Linked DNA regions of Homo sapiens: region 1 is linked to region 2. Evidence: promoter capture Hi-C in human tissues and cell types (Jung and others, 2019). All regions are on one chromosome and are shown on one strand. Each heading gives the region's core, a stretch centred on a gene start or on the middle of the fragment in contact. The rest is flanking DNA. Distances are from core to core; before and after follow the strand shown. Region 1 holds the start of ZNF688 (zinc finger protein 688). Region 2 holds the start of SEPHS2 (selenophosphate synthetase 2).

Region 1 (5,557 bases), core at 2,003-4,502, 130 kb after region 2:
AGCTGTGCCTGGGGTAAGTTGCAGAGACTAGTTTTTGTTTTGTTTTGTTTGTTTGAGACAGAGTCTCACGCAGCTGCCCAGGCTGGAGTGCAGTGGCGCAATCTCGGTTCACAGCAACCACTGTCTCCTGGGTTCAAGCAATTCTCCCATCTCAGCCTCCTGAGTAGCTAAGATTACAGGCACCCACCATCATACCCAGCTAATTTTTGTATTTTAGTAGAGATGGGGTTTCACCATGTTGGCCACTGGTCTTAAACTCCTGACCTCAGGTGATCTGCCCACCTCGGCCTCCCAAAGTGCTAGGATTACAGGCATGAGCCATGGCGCCAGCTTTTTTTTTTTTTTTTTTCTTCTAAGAAATGGAGTCTTGGCCAGGCGCAGTGGCACATGCCTGTAATCCCAGCACTTTGGAAGGCCAAGGTGGGTGGATCACCTGAGGTCAGGAGTTTGAGACCAGCCTGGCTAACATGTGAAACCCCGTCTCTACTGAAAATGCAAAAATTAGTAGGGCATGGTGGCGTGCACCTGTAATCCCAGCTACTCAGGAGGCTGAGGCAGGAGAATTGCTTGAACCTGGGAGGCAGAGGTTGCAGTGAGCTGAGATGGCGCCACTGTACTCCACCCTTAGTGACAGAGTGAGACCCTGTCTCAAAAAAAATAAAAGAAAGAAATGAAGTCTTGCTCTGTTGCCCAGACTGTAGTACAGTGGCACAATCATAGCTCACTGTAGCCTTGAACTCCTGGGCTCAAGCAGTCCTCCCACCTCAGCCTCCCAAGTGGCTGGGACCACAGGCACGATGTGCCACTATGCCTGGTTCATTTTTTTTTTTTTTTTTTGTAGAGATAGGATTTCACTATCTCTAGATAGTGATATCCTAGATATCTAGATATCGCTAGATAGCCTGTTGCTCAGGCTGGTCTGAACTCCTGGACTCAAACGATCCTCCCTCCTTGGTCTCCCAACAGAGGCTGGATTTGTGCCACCTGCATCTATTCTACTCCCATCCACTCCAGTGTCTGGGTCCCCTGCTGATGACAATTAGCCAGGGTTTGACCACGCCCTCCATGTAGGTCCCCTCCCCAGGCCCTGGTCCCCCTCAGCATCTGCATCTGAAATAGATAAGGAGTGGCTAGTTCCTGAGATGATATAAAGGTCTCTGTTGCACCTGATCTTCAGATAACACTTTGAAATGAGTCCAGGGTCTCACTCTCTTCTTTTTTTTTTTTTTTTTTTTTTTTTTTGTTAAACAAAAGACTGGGGAGATGGGTGGCAAGTCTAATCTATTCGAATCTTTACAGGCACTTTTCTTTTTACAAGTTGGAAACTTGAGGGATCCTTGAGGAAAGCCCAGGGCATGAATTTCAGTTCCGGAGTCCCCGACTCAGTGGCCCACCTCAGGGATCCGTCAGTCCTTCGTGCCAAGGTCAGGCTCAACTCCAGCCTGCGGTGCCGCTCAGCCGCACTCCTCGAAGATGTCTGGGTAGTGCCGGAAGAGCACAGGCGGGTCCCGGTCACCTCGGACGGGGGCCCGAGGCACAGCCCGGATCCCAGGCCTCCGGCCCCGCCGCCCCCCGGAGCAGGAGCGGTGGATCCACTGGTGCGCTTCCACTGCGAACTTCCTCTTGAAGCGCATGCCACACTCGGGGCAGGGGAAAGGCCGCTCCCCCGAGTGCATGCGCCTGTGGCTGACCAGCAGTGAGGGGTAGGTGAAGCGGCGGCCGCAGTCCGTGCACACGTGGCGCCGCTGGCCGGCCTGAGCATCCATGCTGGGTATGGGTGCCGGGGGCTGTGCTCCTGTGGTCGGGTCCCAGGCAGCATTTTTGGGTGGCTGTGCCCGTGCCGGGGCCACGCTAATAGCTGGGTCAGGGTTGCGTTCCACCAGCACTTCAGGACTCTCCTTCACAGGAGCCTTTCTAGGCCCTTTGGCTCTTGGGACTTCCTCCGGTTCCTCTTCCTTCCTGTTTGGGACATCTCCTGGGAAACCGGAATTAAGTTACACTTACAAACACTTTTGCACAGACTGTCTCAGGTTATAGAATGCTTTTCACTTAAGGCAGTGAGGGAAGTTCTGTCCAGTGATTAACACACAGGCTTTAGAACAAGGTAAACAGGATTCAGATCTCCTAAAAGTGCCTTATCTGAGCCTTGGTTCCTTATGCATCAAATGGGAATAATAATGGCTTTTGACTTCACAGCGTTACTGGTTTAGCTGAGTAGATGCATGTTAAGCACTTAGGAAGTGCTCAGGAAGCAGGGGCTATTATTTATTTATTTATTTATTTATTTATTTATTTATTTATTTATTTTTGAGACGGAGTCTCACTCTGTCACCCAGGCTGGAGTGCCTGGTTGGACTGGGCTCCCAGTCCTCACAGGACCGCTGTCCCATGTTCTGAAAACTTTGTACCAGGTCTGCCTTCTTTACTCCTCTAGTACCCAACACAGTTGAATTTCTTTAGGGATGCTGGAAGTGGGGGCCTGAAAAGAAACTCTGCTAGACAGGAAGCCCTGGAAAACCAAGTGGGGGGACCCGGGACTATCCCTCACCTCTCCGAGCTCCTCCCAGTCTTTCCCCCTTCTCAGGATCCTGGGCGGCGGGGCTCCAAGCCTCACTCTCCTGTTCCATCCAAGAGATGAGGGCTGGTTTGGGGCCTGGGAATCCTGGGAGAGAACAGGGATCACAGCGCGGGCCTGAGAGGCCATCGTGGGAAGATGGCATTCCCCTCCAGGCTGAGGGCACCCCCTCGGAGCTTATACTCAACCTGGAAGGGGCTGCAGTGCTGCTGCCTGAATGAAATGGATGCGGGTGAAAACACTCCCGAGGGGGTACCTGAAGCCCTGGGAACGGGAGGTGGCTGCTGGTGTTGGTGCAAGAGTGCGGGATTAGGGCTCACAGTCCTCTCGGCCCTTCTACATCATCTCCCCTGTGAACCCGGTGAAGGAGGAGGGGGCTCGGACCCGGGGCTCTCACCGAGCGCGCCCAGGTGGCCGTAGGTCTCCTGCATCACGTCCCGGTACAGAGCCCTCTGCGCGGGCCGCAGACAGCCCCACTCCTCCGGGGAGAAGTACACGGCCACGTCCGCGAAGCTCACAGTCCCGGGCTTCCTGCAACCAGGCCGGGTCTCCCCGGGCCTCGGCGCCAGGAGCGGGGCTGGGGGCGGCGCCATGGGGCCTCGCAGCCCCGATCGGCGGCCGCCAGGTCCCTGGAGCCGCCGCCTCCCCGCTCCCGGCCTCAGCTGTCGTTGTCCACAGGAAGGGCGGCCCCGCCCAGCCGTGGCGTCCGAACGCAGCCGAGGCAACCGAAGTAGCAGGGACTGGCTGCTAGGGATTCGAGGATTCTGATAGGGACAAATATAATTCCTCAGTGTTTATTCACTTCATGGCCGCTTGGACATAGACACCCGGGTTAAGGGACCCGGAAGGTGCCTTCTGAAAATATGGCGACCACCCTTCAATTGTCACAGGCTGCTCTTAAGGGCGCCATTATTTGACCATATCAAATATGGAGCCTTTCTGACTTCTCTGGCCTCATCGTCCCACTTGCCCTTAAATAAAGCCGCTTCGGCTGCTTTTTCTAGTGGGGGAGGCGGGGTGTCTGGGAAGTAGAGGAGAGGCTTCTTGCCTTCAAGAAAGATGTAAGGGCCCGAAGCTTCACTTACCCCTCTGTACCCGCAATACGCAACGGCCGATGATTGGCGACGATCCCGGAAGAAGCTGCGCGGTGATTGGCCTGGGACTGGCGGGGCATTTGAAGGGACCCCGCGGTCCTGAAGCCTCTGTTGACAGACTGGAGCGCAGCGGAGACCTCGGCATCTGCGGTGCTCGGGATTGTGTCCCCTACGGTCTCTTACCGTGCCTCCCGATGGCGGGAGCTGGAATTTGGTCCCCAGACCCCTTGGGAAGACGCGCACACCCTGGCAAACCATGTGTACACCCGCGGTAGAAGCAGGTGCGTGTTTTACAGTAGCTTAGCTGCGGAGTCCACCCAGCCCCTGGCATCCGCAGCTCGGCTCGCTCAGGCTCTAGACCGAAGCTGCAGGCGAAGGAACGTGCTTGGTGAGGATGGAATCGGAATGGGGAAGTTTTAAATTAAATAGTAATTGTTGCTAACATACATGAATTTATTTTTTGTTTGTTTTGAGACAGGGTCTTGCTCTGTGGCCCAGCAGTGCGATCCTAGCTCACTGCAGACTCGACCTCCCGGGCTGAAGCGATCTTCTCACCTCAGCCTCCCGAGTAGCTGGGACCACAGGCGCACACCCAATGCTTGGCTAATTTTTAAATTTTAAAACAGAGACAGGGTCTTGCTATGTTGCCCAGGCTGGTCTGGAACTCCTGGCCTCAAGCAATTCTCCTGCCTCGGCCTCCCAAAGTGCTGTGATTACAGGCATGCGCCACGGTTCCCAGCCATTTCTACTTTTTCTTTGAGAAGGAGTTTTACTCTTGTTGCCCAGGCTGGAGTGCAATGGCGCTATCTCGGCTTGCCCAGGCTGGAGTGCAATGGCGCTATCTAGGCTCACCGCAACCTTCGCCTCCCAGGTTCAAGCGATTCTCCTGCCTCAGCCTCCCAAGTAGCTGGGATTACAGGCATGAGCCACCATGCCCGTCTAATTTTGTATTTTTAGTAGAGACGGGGTTTCTCCATATTAAGTCAGGCTGGTCTCGAACTCCCGACCTCAGGTGATCCTCCCGCCTCAGCCTCCCAAAGTGCTGGGATTACAGGCGTGAGCCACGGCGCCCGGCCCTGCCATTTCTACTTATTTACGTTGTTCCAAATTATCAAAGATAGCATCAACTTTCAAATCCTAATTTTTTTTTTCCTGGGAAACCTTCCTCCTTTAGCCTTCAGTCTCCTCTCTAAACTGGGTTGGGCCTCAGTTCTTCTCATACCGGGTCTCCCCTTCCTGCTGTCCTGGGTTGTATCTTCCGCTTCCTAGATTTAAGGTCTTTATTTTTCAGCCAAGATGGGTCATCCTCATGGCTGGTGGCATTGGACTGTAAATACTAGTTGCCTTCATCCCCACATTTGGAATATACCTGCAATCATACAGGATGCAGAATACTGTTTGCTAAGCGTGGGGCTGGTTGCTGGAGATAACAAGCAAGGCCTACCAGGTCCCTGCTGTCATTCTGGCTCTGGATCTACTTGCTTGGCTCCCCTGCCAGCCCTAGTATATCGAGCCTTCCTTTTTATTCAATAGTGTTTTTTATTGCTGACTTTTCAGTCAAGATTTCTTTGTGTTTTCTGGCCTACCCTTGCTGTTTTTCACCTGAAATGCTTTTTGGCTTTTAGTGTGACTCCTGCTGATCTCATATGCATATGTTATTAATTGATTAATTATTAATTGTTAATAATTAAATATTATTAATATGCTTACATTATTACCTTGAGTTCTGGAACTGCCTCACTGCACTCCATGTGGTGAATACTGTAGAAATTATATAAGGAAAAATATATCCTTAGAAATGAGTATTTTTTAAATTTTGAAAATATTTAATTTAGGCCCAGCCCAGTTGCTCACACCTGTAATCTCAGCACTTTGGGAGGCTGAGGTG
Region 2 (5,420 bases), core at 1,237-3,736:
AGAATTGTTGACACCTTTCTTTTGCTATTTCCTGCCCACTCTCTAACCCTTGGGGCGTATGCCTGCTTCGAGTCCTTTTCTGTCATTTCAGGGGGAAGGTGCAACCCTAAATCTGGGTGTTAAATTACCCAATTCACCAGCATCAGGGAAAACACTCTCTCTCTGCTATACCAGACTCAGTGTATAAGCTGGTTCGTTTTATAAGACTGTATTGAATTTCAAACCACCAAACATTAGCCAGAATAGTTTTTCAACAAGGTTTCTTTTATTTATTTAGCAAGAAATTACTCTTTATTGATCAAATCACCAGGAATCTGCCGCAAAAGACTTAACATCTTAATGACCACTGAGGCCTGGGCTCTGAGGCTTGCTCTGCCTCTCCCAGTCCTTAATGGGGTTTAGAGGGAGAGACGTCATTAACAGAGACCAAGTCAGATGGTTGCAGGTCCTCCTTTCCCAGTCATCAGACAAGTTGCTCAATTCTTGTCCAGAGCAGGAAAGAGCCAGTACTTCAGTAAAATTGAATAAAGAATTTGATGTTGCATTATAAGATCTCTCTTAACAATTTAGATTTATCAACAATATTGGTCCAAAACTCATTTGCTTCTAATTTTTTTCATTTTGCAATTTACTTTGTGTGTGTGTTACTTTAATAATCTCACTCCCTGTGCAGAAATTAATCAACCCCGTGCAAAGAAAAATCCCTCAACCTGGAATAGCTTCATCTTACTTTGGCAAGAGAAAACAGAGGTATTTTTGCTCCTCTTCTACCCAAGTGATGAACAAATATCCCCCCAAAGTTCAAAATGTTACTCTGGCCTCGGAATGCATATAAAGACTGCTTTAGATGGGCTGATTCCAATCACCTAGAAAGGGCAGCCGGAACCACTATGCAGGCAGCCTTCTTTGGAAATTTCTTACAATCAACTCTTGAGAACCATCCGTGATTGTGGACAATGGCTCTAAGGTCCAAACAACTTCTGTTCTTTCATCTCACGAGCTAGGCTCAGAGGAGGCATTTGAACTGTCAGGAGCAAGAACAGCAGCTGTGGCCCCACGAGGCAGGACTTCAATAACTCGCGGCTTGTCAATGATCCGGGCCGTTCGGTTTCCCTTTTCCACAATGCCAACGATCCACGCTTGGTGACCCTCTCCGTACTTGGAGGATTTGATTTCAGAACAAAAGCGAGCCGCCTGTTCTCTTGGCAGACAAATCAGTAATCCCCCAGAGGTTTCAGCTGAGGTTCCTTGAAGAAGCCCAAACCGTCCACTGGCCTTGCTGACGGCAGCCATCTTGGCAATTATTGGCAGATTATGAATAACAAAGGACACTTCATTTCTTTGTTGTTTTGCAAGGTTCTGGGAGTGTCCTAGAATGCCAAAGCCTGTGATATCTGTGGCCGCATGGGCATTAAATGTGTGCATTAAACCTGCAGCAGTTCTGTTGAGGGTAGCCATATTGAACATGGCTTCCTGATAGGCCAGCTCCACCTCTTCTCTGGAGACCACCATCTTTACTTTATTCCATCTTTCAGGATTATCCAGCCATTGGTGGGCATTGACAGCAACCTGGGTTCCTAACGGTTTGGTTAACACCAGCACGTCCCCAACGACGGCGCTGTCCGGCATTATGAACTCATTTGGTTGGCATACTACAGTGGCAACTCCACCGATTATAATCCAAGGGTTGACCACCGTTTGCCCACCGGTCACTGCCGTCCCTCCTTCCTCAGCCGCATCCCGAAAGCCTTTGACCATGAGTGGCGTTACCTTTTCGCGTTCCTCCTCACTCATACTCTGGCTGACGCTGAGTAACATCAACATGTTGTCACACTCAGTAATCCCCATGGCGTAGAGGTCACTCAGCACGTTGGCACAAGCTATGCGCCCCATCATGTAGGGATCTTCTACCAAGGGGTAAAAGAAGTCCGTGGTCTGCACCAGTGACAGGCCCCCGTGCCTCAGGGGGATGACGCAGGAGTCCATCCCGATGCCCAGGGCTGGAAAGGTGGGGCTGGGGCCCGCTCCTGCCGGCAGGCCGGCTTCCTGGGACGCCTCTTCCTGGCCACCCACCAGGCCCCGGCCCAGCGGGGGCCGCACGTCCGGCCGCGTCAGTCCCGCCAGGAGTTTGAGCAGCGCCTCCTGCGGGACCTTGCAGCCTCAGCCCTTCATGCCGGAGAAGCCCGTCAGCCGCCAGCTCGGGCTGAGGCCCAACGCCTGGGGCTCGAAGGGCCGGTAGTTCGAGAAGCTCCGGCCCAGAGTCAAGCCCGCCGGGCCCGAGGAGCCTTCCGCCGCTGCCATCGCCTCTCCGCAGGCGCCCGTCGCCGAGGCTTCCGCCATGGCGCCTGCCCGGCAGGGAAGCGAGAGGAGAAGAGGGCCCTTTTATTTTCCACTCAGATTAATATGAAGCAAAAGTCAAATATTACCTGCAGGGATTCTCCCTAGCGCTACTCAAGCCGTCAGACCCACGGCATGCACAATCTTCCTGATAGAGGAGCCGCCGGACTCCCTTATTTATAGCCCTGGCGATTGACAGCCGCAACATCCAATGACGACTCCGCCACCGAGAGGCGGGCTTCCTAGACTCTAAAAGGTGCAACAACCTCCGGCTTGCAAAACCGCTTGCAACGGGATTGCAGAACGTCACGTGCTTTCCTTCGCTCTCTTAGTAATTTAAATGGTTTCTTGGCAGTGGCTGACGGAACTCTGCTCCCTTCCAGTCACTTTTCCAAGTCCAGCAAATTGTAGACGAGGGAAGATTGGTCACTCGGCAAACCTCATGATCGGCAGGATTGTCCCAAAGGTCACTTGACAGCGCACATGATCGATCCAGGATGGCAAAATAGCCCAAGGGAAAAAACAGAAAGCATGAGAAATTAGAAATTAAACTACTACCATTAAGTTAGCAAACTGCAGGCAGCATCAATATAATGAAATGTTAACAGGAACTTCAAGAACTCTAGGACTCAGGAGGTCGAGGCTGCAGTGAGCTGCGTCCGCGCCACTGCACTCTAGTCTGGGCGACAGAGCAAGAACCTGTCTCTAAAACAAACAACAATAACAAACAAACAAACACCCCCCCCACACACACAGACACACACAAAAAGAGAGATTTAGGACTGGAAGTCCAGACACCTGCATGGATTCTAATGGTGTTTCCCACCAGCTTTGTGTGGAGTCACTCTCCGCGTCGGTTGACTCATCCATCTGTGGAACAGAGTGGGTTACATAGGACTGGTCTATTCTAAAATTCCTATATCTCTGTAAATAAATATATATATATATCTTATATAGCCATGAAGGGCAGTTTGCCAATATCTATTAAAAACTCCACCTCCCAGGTTCAAGTGATTCTCCTGCTTCAGCCTCCTGAATAGCTGGGATTACAGGTGTGCGCCACCACACCCGGCTTATTTTTGCGTTTTTAGTACAGACGGGATTTCACCACGTTGGCCAGGCTGGTCTCAAACTCCTGACCTCAAGTGATCTGCTGGCCTCGGCCTCCCAAAGTGCTGGGATTACAGGCATAAGCCACCACACCCAGCCAATAAAAACTTTTTTAAAAGACAAGAAAATGAATAGAAGACTCAGCATAGGGGCTATGTCTAGGGAGGGCTACATAGGGAGCTTCTGGGCTATGTTTAATTCTGTTCATTGGGCTGGTGGTGGGTACGTGGTACATGGTTGTTCTTTAAACTGTACATAGATATTTTCGGGGCCGGGCACAGTGGCTCACACCTGTAATCCCAGTACTTTGGGAGGCCGAGGCGGGTGGATCACGAGGTTGGGAGATCGAGGCCAGCTTGATCTATATGGTGAAACCCCGTTTCTACTAAAAATACAAAAATTAGCCGGGCATGGTGGTGAGCGCCTATAATCCCAGCTACTCGGGAGGCTGAGGCAGGAGAATTGCTTGAACTTGGGAGGCAGAGGTTGCAGTGAGCCAAGACTGCACCACTGCACTCCAGCCTGGGTGAAAGAGCGAGACTCTGTCTCAAAAAAAAAAAAAAAAAAAACTGCACATAGATATTTTCCCACACTATTTTTGTAGGTATGCTATATTTCAGAATTTAAAAAACATGCAAAAAGAAAGCATGATGGAGTGGGAAAATACAGTGAAAGCAAAAGACCTTGTATGATGTCTGCATTGCTGTCAGTGAGCTGGCTGACCTTGAGGAAGTGATCTAGCCTCTCTGCACCTTAGTCTTCTCTTCTGTTAAACCAGGGTCACAATCTCTGCTTAGGATCTAGTGGAAGGGCCATAGGAAACCTCAGCTGAAAAGTGTTTTGCAAAATGTTAAGCCTATTGTACAGGGAAAGGATCCTCATATCTCTAAGGGAAAGAGGAAAACATTGTATTATGTCTGTAATCACCTCACCTGAGTTAAAAAGTGACTAGGTCAGGTGGTGCTGGTTATACATTCTCTTAGTTCTTTGGACTTCTCCCTCTCTGCACTTAGTACAATTTGCAATTCTTTTTTTTGTTTGTTTGTTTTTTGAAATGGAGTCTCGCACTGTCACCCGGGCTGGAATGCAGTGGTGCGATCTCGGCTCACTGCAACCTCCACCTCCCGGGTTCAAGCAGTTCTCCTTCCTCAGCCTCCCAAGTAGCTGGGATTACAGGCACCCGCCACCACAACCAACGAATGTTTTGTATTTTTAGTGAGACAGGGTTTCACCATGTTGGCCAGAATGGTCTTGATCTCTTGACCTCATGATCCGCCCCCTTCGGCCTCCCAAAGTTCTGGGATTACAGGCATGAGCCACCGCGCCTGGCCCTGTAATTCTTTAATCATGTGATAATGCCATGCCTATCTGTCTGGCCCCCTCGTTTGTAAGCTCTGCAGAGCAGGGGCTGCTCTGTTGTTTCTGTTTGTTTGTTTTGTTTTGTTTTGAGACAGAGTTTTGCTTTTGTCACCCAGGCTGGAGTGCAGTGGCTTGACCTCAGCTCACTGCAACCTCTGCCTCCCAGGTTCAAGCGATTCTCCTGCCTCAGCCTCCCGAGTAGCTGGGATTATAGGCACCTGCCACCATGCCTGCCTAATTTTTGTATTTTTAGTAGAGATGGGGTTTCACCATGTTGGCCAGGCTGGTCTCGAACTCCTGACCTCAGGTGATCCTCCTGCCTCAGCCTCCCAAAGTGCTGGGATTACAGGCATGAGCCACTGCACCTGGCTGAGGGGCCTCCTTGATAATACTCATAACCTCTACTCCATGCCCTTCTAGGAAGCAGAGGTCTTTGGGGGAAGGTTTTCATCCATACAGTTCCCTGTTGCTTCTACTTGGAGCAATATTCACTTGGGCCAGTGCAAAGAAAGTCACGAATTTGCCTTGGCCAGTGACCAACCTGCTGTGCTCAGAATGACACATGCATGTGCCTCTGTGCAGGTGACCCATAGGGGCCTCTCAAGGGTGACCCT

The links. Contacts are between HindIII fragments. The study calls those that stand out against the background at their distance.
Region 1: a contact is called between the fragment with the promoter of ZNF688 here and the fragment with the promoter of SEPHS2 in region 2, in 5 of the 25 tissues and cell types used here (IMR-90 fibroblasts, lymphoblastoid cells, mesenchymal stem cells and 2 more).

What each region holds. Positions count from the first base shown.
Region 1 is chr16:30,568,462-30,574,018 of GRCh38, forward strand. ZNF688 (zinc finger protein 688) reads right to left here and starts at 3,253. Exons shown (of 3, transcript NM_145271.4): 1 at 2,973-3,253; 2 at 2,549-2,662; 3 at 1,265-1,975. The coding sequence starts at 3,168. The coding sequence ends at 1,455. RefSeq lists enhancers at 1-69, 1,029-1,594, 1,595-2,158 and a silencer at 3,021-3,260. The HindIII fragment of the contact is 17,900 bases long and covers 1-5,557 here.
Region 2 is chr16:30,443,388-30,448,807 of GRCh38, forward strand. It overlaps SEPHS2 (selenophosphate synthetase 2), which reads right to left and starts at 2,487. Exons shown (of 1, transcript NM_012248.4): 1 at 244-2,487. The coding sequence starts at 2,340. The coding sequence ends at 994. RefSeq lists an enhancer at 1,679-2,625 and a silencer at 1,952-2,071. The HindIII fragment of the contact is 9,223 bases long and covers 1-5,420 here.